Linked DNA regions of Homo sapiens: region 1 is linked to region 2. The links are contacts of gene promoters, found by promoter capture Hi-C in blood cells and fetal thymus (Javierre and others, 2016). All regions are on one chromosome and are shown on one strand. The core of a region is centred on a gene start or on the middle of the fragment in contact, and the rest is flanking DNA. Distances in the headings are between cores, read along the strand shown.

The links. The method cuts DNA at HindIII sites, captures the fragments that hold promoters and counts their contacts. A CHiCAGO score of 5 or more calls a contact.
Region 1: a contact is called between a fragment that was not itself captured here and the fragment with the promoter of TSPAN2 in region 2, in 2 of 17 cell types (naive CD4 T cells and total B cells). The highest score is 6.7, in naive CD4 T cells.

Annotation. Positions count from the first base shown.
Region 1 is chr1:114,983,766-114,989,329 of GRCh38, reverse strand. SYCP1 (synaptonemal complex protein 1) reads right to left here. Exons shown (of 32, transcript NM_003176.4): 30 at 4,462-4,605. Among named protein-coding and RNA genes, the nearest start is that of TSHB, 43 kb to the left of the region's middle. The HindIII fragment of the contact is 1,624 bases long and covers 2,103-3,726 here.
Region 2 is chr1:115,087,174-115,092,612 of GRCh38, reverse strand. TSPAN2 (tetraspanin 2) reads left to right here and starts at 3,110. Exons shown (of 8, transcript NM_005725.6): 1 at 3,110-3,249. The coding sequence starts at 3,181. The HindIII fragment of the contact is 10,227 bases long and covers 601-5,439 here.

The DNA.
Region 1 (5,564 bases), core at 1,665-4,164, 100 kb after region 2:
GTAGTTACCATGGAGATTACATTTAACTTCCTAATGCTATAACAATCTAATTCAAATTTATACCAACTGAACTTCAATAGCCTATAAAAACTCTGCCCCTACACAGCTCCATCTTCCCTGTTTTGTTTTTGGGGTTTTTTTTGGTTTTTTGTTTTGTTTTGTTTTGACAGGATCTAATTCTGTCACCCAGGCTGGAGGTCAGTGGTGTGATTATGGCTCACTGCATCCCTGACCTCCCAGGCTCAAATGATCCTTACACCTCAGCCTCCTAAGTACCTGGGTCTACAGATGTGCACCACAATGCCTGACTAATTTCCATATTTTTTGTAGAGACAGGATCTCATTGTGTTACCCAGGCTGGTCTCAAACTTCCACCTGCCTCAGCCTCCCAAAATGCTGGGTTTACAGGTGTGAGCCACTGTGCCCAGCCCATTTTCTGTTATTGATGTCACAAACTACATCTTTATACATTGTGCGCCTAGTAACATAAATTAACCATTTATATGCATTTGTCTTTAAAATCATATAGAAAATAAAAACTGAAGTTACAAACCAGAATAACAATACTACTAGCTTTTATAAATTGCCCATGTATTTACGTTTACCAGAGATATTTATTTATTCATACAGCTTCACTGTCTAGCAGCCTTTCCATCTGAAGATGTCCCTTTAGTACTTTTTGAAGAGCAGGTTTAGTGGTAACAGACTCTTTATGGCTTTTGTTTATCTGGAAATATCTCAATTTCTTCTTCATTTTGAATGACAGTTTTGCTGGATATAAAATTCTCAGTTGATAATTTTGGTCTTTCAGCACTTTGAATATATAAATTCACTGTCTTCTGGCATCTAACATTTCTGATGAAAAATCAGCTGATAATTTTGTTGAGAATAACTTGCATGTAATGAGTTGCATCTCTCTTGCTGCTTTCAAGATTCATTTTTTCTCCCAACAGTTTGATTATAAAATGTCTTGATGGGGGCTTTTTGGAGTTTGTTGAGCTTCGTGAATTTGTATATTCATGTCTTTCATCAAAATTTGGGAAGTTTTTAGCATTTATTTCTTCATATAACTCTTTCCACCTCTCTCTCTCTTTTTCTCTCTCTGTCTACCCCCCCACCTCTTCCTCTCTCCCTCTTCTCCTTCTGGAATTCCTACAATGTATATATTGGCCCAGCTGATGGTGTGCTACAAGACTCTGAGGCTCTGTTCACTTTTCTTTTCTTTTCTTTTTCTTTTTTTTTTTTTTTTGCCGTTTATCAGACTCAGTAACTTCAATTGTCTATCTTTACGTTCACCAATTCTTTTTTCTGCTTACTCAAATCTGCTTTTAAATCCCTCTAGTGGGTTTCTCATTTCGGTTATTGTACTTTCAGTTCCAGAGTTTTTTTCTGGTTCTTTTTATAATTTCTAACTCTCTATCAATATTCTCATTTTATTCACACAAAATTAGGGTTTTTTTTTCTTTGTCCATGTCTTCCTTTAGCAATTTGAGCTACTTTAAGACAGCTGTTTTGAAGTCTTTGTCTAGTAATTCCAATGTCTGAGCTTCCTCAAGGATAATTTCTGTTGGTTTGTTTTGTTCCTTTGAATGGATCATATTTTCCTATTTATTTGTATGCCTTATGATTTGTTACTATTGGTCTTTTGGTTTAAAAAAATTTTTAGAGACAAGGTCTCACTCTGTCACCTAGGCTGGAGTGTAGTGACATAATCATAGCTGACTATAACTTTGAACTCCTGGGCTCAAGTGATCCTTCTACCTCAGCCTCCTGAGTAGTTAGACTACAGGCCATGTGCCACCACACCTGGCTAATTTTTTAAATTTTTGTATAGAGAGGGTCTCACTGTTGCCCAACTTAGTCTCAAACTCTTGGCCTCAAGAAACCTTCCTACCTTGGCCTCCCAAAGTGGTGAAATTACAGGCGTGAGCTATTGTGCCTGGCCCTTGTTGTTGAAAACTGGACATTTGAATATTATACTTTGGTAACTCTGGAAATAAGATTTTCCCTCTTCCCCGGGATTTTCTGTTTTTGTTTGTGTTCTGTTTTCTTTTGTTTTACTGTTGAAAGTCTGTGCCAGGGATCAGCCTGAGATAAAAGCTTATGGTCTTCTCCCGTCTTTTTTAAGCCTCTTTGCTTAAACATGTGCTATAGCTAAATTCCTTTTTGCTTTGCTTTTGAATATCCTAATCCTTAAATGCCTGGCTTCCCAAAGGGTAAAGATGGAAAAAGAGAAAAGGAAAAAAAAAAAAAGATAGATGTGCTTCATGTAAATTCCTGGAAGTTGCTTCAGCCAGTGGGGGTTGAAACACTGAACTCTGATGTTTGAAGGACAAGTCCTATTGCCCCCTCTGGCACCAGCAAGTCACTCAGGGAACATGAGCATGGCTTCCTGACACAGGACTGTAGGCTGGGGAGACTGGTAGCTGCTATCATATTTTAGGCTGAAATCAACCTAAATTAACTGCAATTTACCAGCTAACCTTTCCCCTGGAAGCTATAAACATTCAAATAAGACTGCATACTTATAAAATAGTTACTTCAGACAGTTTCTGCCAGTATACTTTTTGTCTAGGTAGAGAGATGGATTCCTGGCACTTCCTACTCCACCATCTTCCTGAGGTCATGCTCAACAACCCATTTTTAAATCTTAATTTTTATAATTTGAATGTTCAAAATTTAACTACATAAGCTAAGAAAATTACAAAATGACTAATAGGTTCATATAATAATTATAACCAGGAAACTGATTGTGAAATGTGTTTTTAGACTAGTTTGAACAATTGTGTGCAATTCTATAATACTGTAATATGTTTATTGTGTTGCAAGTTTGTGATGCTCCTTTTAGAAATGAAATGAATCATGTTGAATCATTCTGAATCTCAGATCAGCTAAGAAATTGGCCTAAACTCAAACTGCTAGAATAATAACAGGGATTACAATCCTAGAATGTTTAATTCTAAAGCTCATTTTCTTTCTAATTCTCATTACATTTTTATATATCTGGACTACATTTTGAATTGGCAGTTATCATGTGCAATGACTTACATAGTCTATGAAGCCAGACTGTGTTCAAATTTTGGTTCCATGTCTTACTAACTATGTGATCTTGAAAAATATACTTGTGTGACTCAGTTTCCTCATCTGTAAACTGGAAAGAACAGTATATACTGTGATCTCTTAGTATCCATGGGGGATTGGATCCAGGATCCCTCCATGCATGCCAAAATCTGTGGATGTTTATGTAAAATGATATAATATTTGCATGTAACCTATGTACTTCCTCCTGTATACTTTAATCATCTCTAGGTTACTTATAATACCCAATACAATGTAAACACTATATAAATAGTTATGTTGTATTGCTTTCTTATTTATATTATTTTCTACTGAATTGTTATTTATTTTTTTTTTTTTCAAATTTTTTGGCCTGTAGTTGGTTGAATACACAGATGTAGAACCTGTGAATACAGAAGGCCAACTGTATTTCTAAAGGCTGGAATTGTTATAAGAAATAATTAAAGTAATCTTCGTTGTATAAAGTGTTTACAATAGTACCTGGTTCACAGTTTTAATTGTTAAGATGTTGATAATTATCTATAAAACAAAGGGGTTCTGAAGTAGGGACTCTATATGTTAACTTCAATATTTAGGGTTTTAAGACTTCAACTACTCATTATTCCAGAAAAAAATGAAAATAGAAGGTCCCAAAGTAGTAGAAAAGCTTGAAGGATCTTCTAGTTATAAGTGGGAATAATAAAACAAATGAATTTAACTGGGATTTTGTCATTAAGAATTTTTGGTGCATTGCTCCATTTACTCTGGTATGGTTCACCTTTTTAAAAAAATTAAATGAATCTAAGCTTCATTATTCTCAATAAACCATTATTATGCCTTCAGAAAACAGTGGTATATGTGAATGGGAGTAATTAGTGATACAAAGTGCTAGAGGAAATAGCCTGCTTAAACATGCTGTCCTTAATACATTAACTTCTTTAGAGTGATGGAAATGTTATAGTTGTCAACCAATACCTTGATATAAATATCAACCAGTGATGTAAAAGGAGCATGTATAATATGCAAAATAGAGGGGACGCCTAAATAACAGATTTGGCACAGTAAAATATTCACTCCATCTCTCTTTTTAAAAATATAGTAAGAACTCCTTTATGACATTCTTCTAGAAAACAAGACAATGATTAATCATATCGTATGCCCATTGTGCTATATCAAGTATTTTCAAAGTGCCAGGTTTTCTGAAATTTACAGGGAAATTATTTGAACCCTAATTTTTCTGAAATGCTGCAAAAGCACAAGGATCTGCATTTTAGCAGAGCTCCACTGTATATCAGTATTGCAATGGTAGGTACTATGTAAATATATTATACATGTATATCAAGGAAAATAGTATACAAATAAGTAATATAAATAAATACTAAATATTATTTGTAAAATTTTTACCAAAAGATCAGTAGTTTCTGAACTATCTGAATTAATATCAAATTCAAAGGCCATTTTTCTCTTTTTTTTACTTTCTTCAATGGGTATATTCAAGTTTTCTCTTTGCTGTAGTTTTGGTTTTGTTGGTGTCTTCACTGTATATGCCTATCCAAAAATAAAAAACCATACATTATCATATCAAATAAAATATGCATTATTAATAAAGGGTTTCACAAATAATTTTAAGGCAATTTGAGTCCTTAGCAATCAGAAACCTCCATTATTATTGGCAAGTATATGAGGCAAAAATTTTGGATAAGAATTTAATTCAAATGTTTTTGATACTATAAGTTGTCTTTCTTCAAAAATTTACAATGGTAGACTTTCTCTGCCTTTCCTTTAACTTGCTGAAGAAAATAAGAAAGAGAAAGAGTGAAACAGAGAGACAGACACACTCCAGATTCAGCAATCAACAATCTTAGGGGCCTTAATATTTCTAATCATGATCGAAAAAAATAACTGAGTGAGCTTTGCTCTCTCTACAAAACACCTTATTACATTGTGAGAAAATATGCTTGCTTATTTTTATATTGGTAAAGTAATTCACATTAGTCAATGTTTCACATTCTATACTATCTTGTAATTTTTATAATTTGTAAAAGTATCTTTAAAAAGTAAGGTCAAAAGCCAAGTACAGTGGCTTATGCCTGTAATCCCAGCACTTTGGAAGACCAAGGCAGGAGGATTGCTTGAGGCCAGTTCAAAACTAGACTGAGCAACATAGCAAGACCCCAACTCTAAAATTTTTTTTAATTAAAAAAACATAGCCAGGTATGGTGGCCCATCCCTATAGCCTCAGCTACTCAGGAGGCTGAAGCAGGAGAATTGCTTGAGCCAGGAGTTCAAGGTAGCAGTGGGCCATGATCATGCCACTGCAGCCCAGCCCAGGCAACAGAGCAAAAACAAAAATTAAATTAAATGTAATTTAAAAAGTTAAGGTCAGAGACATCAGTACAAATGGCAGAGTAATGAGCTCTAAAAATTCACTCCTCCATAAAAGCCATAAAAATATTGGTAAAAACTTGTCGGAATCAGTTTTTTTCAGAACTCTGGAAATTAACCAA
Region 2 (5,439 bases), core at 1,861-4,360:
CTCTACCAGTCAGGAATATCTTTAGCTACATGTAACAACACAAAGTCAAACAAAAAGAGGGTTATTTTTCCTATATAATAAGAAATGTGGAGTTAGGTAGCTGCTGGTATTGGTTCAGCAGTTCCACAATGTCCTAGCTGGAAGGTCTGCAATTGTCTTGCCCTTTCTTCATAGTCACAAAATGTTCTAGCACTTCAAGCATCATGTCTGAGTTCAAGACAGGAAAAAGAGAAAAGGGAGCAATGCCAGTGACAGTTTAAAGGCTAACTTCCTTATTATGTCATTTAATGTAGCCCTGTACTTTCTTATAGTAATATACCCTTGAAAATGTATGGAATGCCTTTCAGGCACAATACATACATATATGTTGATGATGGCAATTCCTCATGTTGGAAGTGGGACCTTGTGTGAGGTATTGGATCGGAGTGGATCCTTCATGAATGGCTGGATGCCATCCTCCCTATAATGAGTGAGTTCTTGCTCTGAGTTCACATGTGATATCTGGTTGTTTAAAAGAGTGTGGAACTCCCCACTTCTTTTGCTCCCACTCTCGCTGTGTACACACTGGCTCCCTGTGACCTTCCACCACAACTGAAAGCTTCCTGAGGCCTCACCAGAAGCAGATGTCAGCACTATGCTTCCTGTACAGCCTGCATAACTGTGAGCCAATTAAATCTCTTTTCTTTAGAGATTACCCAGTCTCAGGTACTACTTTGTAGCAACACAAGAATGGACTAACACACATGCGTCCACACACATACACATACATGTACACAAAAACCTAAACCTCAATTGGCTTCAGAAATGGCTAACTCAGTTATGGCGTAATATCACCTATGACTCTGGTTTTTTCAACTTCCTGCTTTGCTGTTTTCAATGTTGGATCTCTCCTCAGGCTGGTATGAAGATGGATATAGCAACTCTATGTATACCATCCAGATCCAACAGCTTCAAGAGGAAGAAGACCATCTGGCCCCTCAGTAGACACCACTCCCATCCCATTAGTCAGGATGCTTGTCAATTTGTTTCCTGAACTAACTACAAGGGAAATGGGATTACCTTCGCCTATTCCTCTCAAGGGTCAGCTTCCCTTAAGACATACAACTTTGTGAAAGGGCGACTGGGCAAGTCTATACTAAAGATCTGAAACTGTTATGTTGGACAGGCAACCACCATCTGTCTCTAATACATGTGTGCTAAAATCGTAGCATGAAAAAAACAAACAATAGATGTATATGTTACAATAGGGGTTCTCTTCCCTCTATATAATCTCTAGACATATTTTGTCTTAGAGATGTAAAATTCAACGATATATTTAAAGTATAATATCATTGTTCATTCAGTTGATTTACTGAACGCCTTCTATGTACCAGACACTACTCTTTAACTTAGTTCTTTTCCTTTATACTAAAACAGAGGTGACAGATATAGAACTATAAGTGTTTGATTGAAGCTAATGATTCACTTCTCTCTGCATACCTAATGACTTCCATCTTTGTCTTTATTTCATTGTTGGAGACATGTTTATTACTAGAATCAGCACTTTCATTTTTCTGTCTTTGACTCGTTTTTATAAATGAGTCGATATTCAAACAAATGTCCAAAGACACAGAGGTAGGCAAAGATGGCAACATGGTAGAAACTGAATGGTTGACTGATAAGAGTGTGATACAATAATACTAACCCTTATGCAGTACTTAATCTGTGCCAGGCACTGTTCTAGGCACTTCACAAATACTAACTCATTTATCTTCACAACTCTATGAGGGGAGTACTATTACCTCCATGTTGCACGTGGGGACACTCGGGGCCAATGACAGTTTGGCACATTGGTCAGCCGACTGAAAGCTGTGATTTGGCTCCTGCCTTCCTGACTCACTCTGCCCCCACCAGGCTTCACTCGGGCTAACTGCGGTTCTCAGAACTCCCTTGGAGGCCTTGTTCTCTCCAGCTCTGTGCTTTTGCGCATGCTGTCTTCCTGGACTGATCTTTTCCGCCTGGGCTCCGTCTTCTAGACCAGATCAGGCCCCTCTCCTTAGCAATGCCTTTTCTGGTTAAGGCAGTCAGGCCAGGCACACCTGTCTAGCACCCAGCCCTTCTCTCCTCACCCTATTTGCTTACAGATCTGTCTCCAACACCAGAGACTGTGGTTCTGGGCCTGGCTGTCTCCTCATTGTTGAGTCCCTGGGGCTTGCTACTATGTCTGGCCTATAATAGGCACTCAAAGTTTTGCTGAATTTATGCATAAGCTCTCCGAATTTTGCTTTCTTGTCTCCCCCATACTGTCTGACACCACATATTGTAGACACTTAGTCAATGGAAGTGGGAGTCTGATTTTCCTGCCAACAGCCTAACTTAATAAAAACAAAGCAAAACAAAAACCGCCCCCTTCCCCTTTCTCCCATCTCCACATCATAATTAAGATCCCGAAAATTTGGGATCCTTCCAAGCCCTCCGATCAGTGGAACCCGGCAGGACATGAGAAGTCAGACTCCCTCCACTGGCCGGCTGGGTTGAGGGCAGCCCACAGGACTCAGGGCGCCGCCTCCCGCACCCTCTCTCAGTTCTTGCCTATTAAGGTAAGAGTCCCCCGAGGAGGGGGGAGGGGCCGGAGGGAGGGTCCCCTAGAAGCTGCTTGTGTGCTTGCTCCGCGCCGCGGAGCCGCAGCCCTGGACACTCAGTCAGGTGCCCCGCGACTGGTCCTGCCAGCTTCGGGGCAACCTCCGACCCCACTTAGCTCTTCTACCCGAGGTCACCTTCCTAGATTTCCATAGCCACGAGACCAAGTGCTTATCCCTCAAGCATCGCCCGGGCCTCAAACCGGTCTCCGCACAGGGCGCTGATTAAATGGGTCCCCAGTCCCCGGTGGGCGCTCCCGCCCTGCAGGTGCTCCGATAGCCGGCGGCGGTGCGCCCACTGGAGGGAAGGAAGGTGGTCCCTGGGTCCGGGAGAAGAGCGAACGTGCTCCCTCGGGCTGCTCGATCTCCACCCGCTGGCGCCCCCACCCGTCGCCAGCCACGCCGCTTGGGGTCCACGCGCCCCTCCCCGCCGGGCCCCGCCCCGCCCCCCGGAGGCCCCGCCCCGGTCCTCCCCGCTCCGCCCCCTCCCCGCCGGAGCCTGCCGCTCCCCGCGCTCGTAGCGCGGGCCTGGGGACTGGGGATCCCGCCGCCGGGCCGCAGCATGGGGCGCTTCCGCGGGGGCCTGCGGTGCATCAAGTACCTGCTGCTTGGCTTCAACCTGCTCTTCTGGGTGAGACCAGGAGCCGGGAGGGCCGGTCAGGGCAGGGGGCCGGGTGGCGGGCGCGGGGCCGGGGTCCCCGAGCTGCTGACTGCGGCGTCCGAGTCGCGCTCGTGGGGAGGGCTGGGTGCTCAAACGCGGAGGCGAGGAGAAGGCAAACAAAGAGGGAGGGGAGGGATGGAAGGGAGAGAACGGGAAGACAGAAGGTTGATCAATGAGAAATGGTGAGAAGGGGAGAGACACCGTGTGGCTCTTTCCTGGAAGGAACCCCCACCTGCCTTGGTTTTTATCTCCCAGCTAGTGACCCCAGGTGCGGGGACCCAGCCTCTCCTCACCTCCGGAGGACTTGGGTCCCTGTTCCCCTCCAGTCTCCCGTGCACACACCCCCTTTTCACTCTGCCTACCAGCTGGAACCAGGGCCTGGCCAGGGTGATGGGAGAGAAACCCCTGCCCTGGGGCTGCCTGGGGTGGTGCTCCATTCGAGTGTGTGGACACTGTACCTGGCTGTGATGGTTTTGTTTAGGAAATTGGAGATAGGAGTGAAAATTGTGGTGGGGGGGCGTCGTCCTTTTTCTGGGCATCAGGGTAAGAGTACCCCTGGGTGAGAGGAGGTGGTGGGTTCTCTTCTGAGAAGGGGATGGGGAATGGAAGGGCTTCTAAAGGGCAGCAGCAGCTCTCCACAACCCCCAGCCGCAGCCTCTGCTAAATACTAATTCTCCCAGAGATGATCTCATTCAACTTTGCAGGGTTTGATTGAACTGACAGCGTTCCCAGGATTCATGGTTCACAGAGAGATAGGATCTTGACCCTTGTCTCCTATATTATCGAGACAGGGATACAGCTAGACCAGACCTACATCCCTGGATACCCTGTCCCAGGGCCTGCAGGACTGTGAGACAAGGTCTGAAAATTGTCTTTTCTGCACATTTCCTCTTGGGCTTTCTTAAGAGAATGTCAGCCAGTGTAACTGCTCAGCTAGACCCTGAGGGGAAACATTGGATAAAGAGGTTTGAGAGCAGCCAGGGCCTGGGTGCTTTGAAACTACCAGGTTGGAGGAGGTGGCTGTCCTATCTGCTCTGGGGGACGTTGTCTTCCCATGATTGCAACTAATTAATTATTGAATGATGGGCTCCTCTTTTGTCTGTCAATCCATTAGCCCAGATGCCTGGGTGACTTCAGCAACTCCAAGCTCTTCAGTATCCTTCAGCAGTGGAAGGTGTGAAGGAGGTACCTCCTCGACATCCCCTGAACTTTAAAGAGACACATGGCCTTTGTACACGTGGGGATTTACATCAAGCATACTATAGGGAGAGGCGTTTCTGAAGACCCTTTATGTTGTATTTTTTAGGAATCTGGCTTAATTTCAGAAGCTGTTAATTATAGATGTCACGCCACAGTGACAACCTTCATTCTCACTGCTTATGAATTCAAAGCCTTATGAAGTTTTAAGCCTGAGGAGGAATTCTTAAGCTGGGTTCAGTGCTTATTTAGTGGCTGATATTGTACCAGCCTTTCCAGTGATAGCTGGAAGGATTCATTGAATGTTTTCAATGTGTCAGGGACAGTGCTAAGCATATTACTTTCATTATTACACATAATCCTCACAAGAGTCCTGATATACATATACTATTATTATCCCCATTTTTTACAGATGAGGAAACAGGCTCAAATTGGTTAAGTCACCTAAGATCACACAGCTAGTGAGTGGCAGGGATGGTATTCAAACTCAGCCTACCTTCTCTTTTTTTTTTTTTTTTTTTGAGACGGAGTCTCACTCTGTAGCCCAGGCTGGAGTGCAGTGGCCCGATCTCCACTCACTGCAAGCTCCACCTCCCAGATGCACGCCATTCTCCTGCCTCAGCCGCCCAAATAGCTGGGACTACAAGCACCCTCCGCCACGTCTGGCTAGTTTTTTTGTATTTTTAGTACAGACGGGATTTTACCGTGTTAGCCAGGATGGTCTCCATCTTCTGACCTCATGATCTGCCTGCCTCAGCCTCCCAAAGTGCTGAGATTACAGGCGTGAGCCACCGCGCCTGGCCGCCTACCTTCTCTTAAGCACTGTGGTACATTCAATTAACCAGTGGTTCTCAAAAGTGGTTCCTGGGCCAGCAGCATCAGCATATCCTGGGAATTTGTCAGAAATACAAATTCTCAGGCCGGGCACAGTGGCTCATGCCTGTAATCCCAGCACTTTAGGAG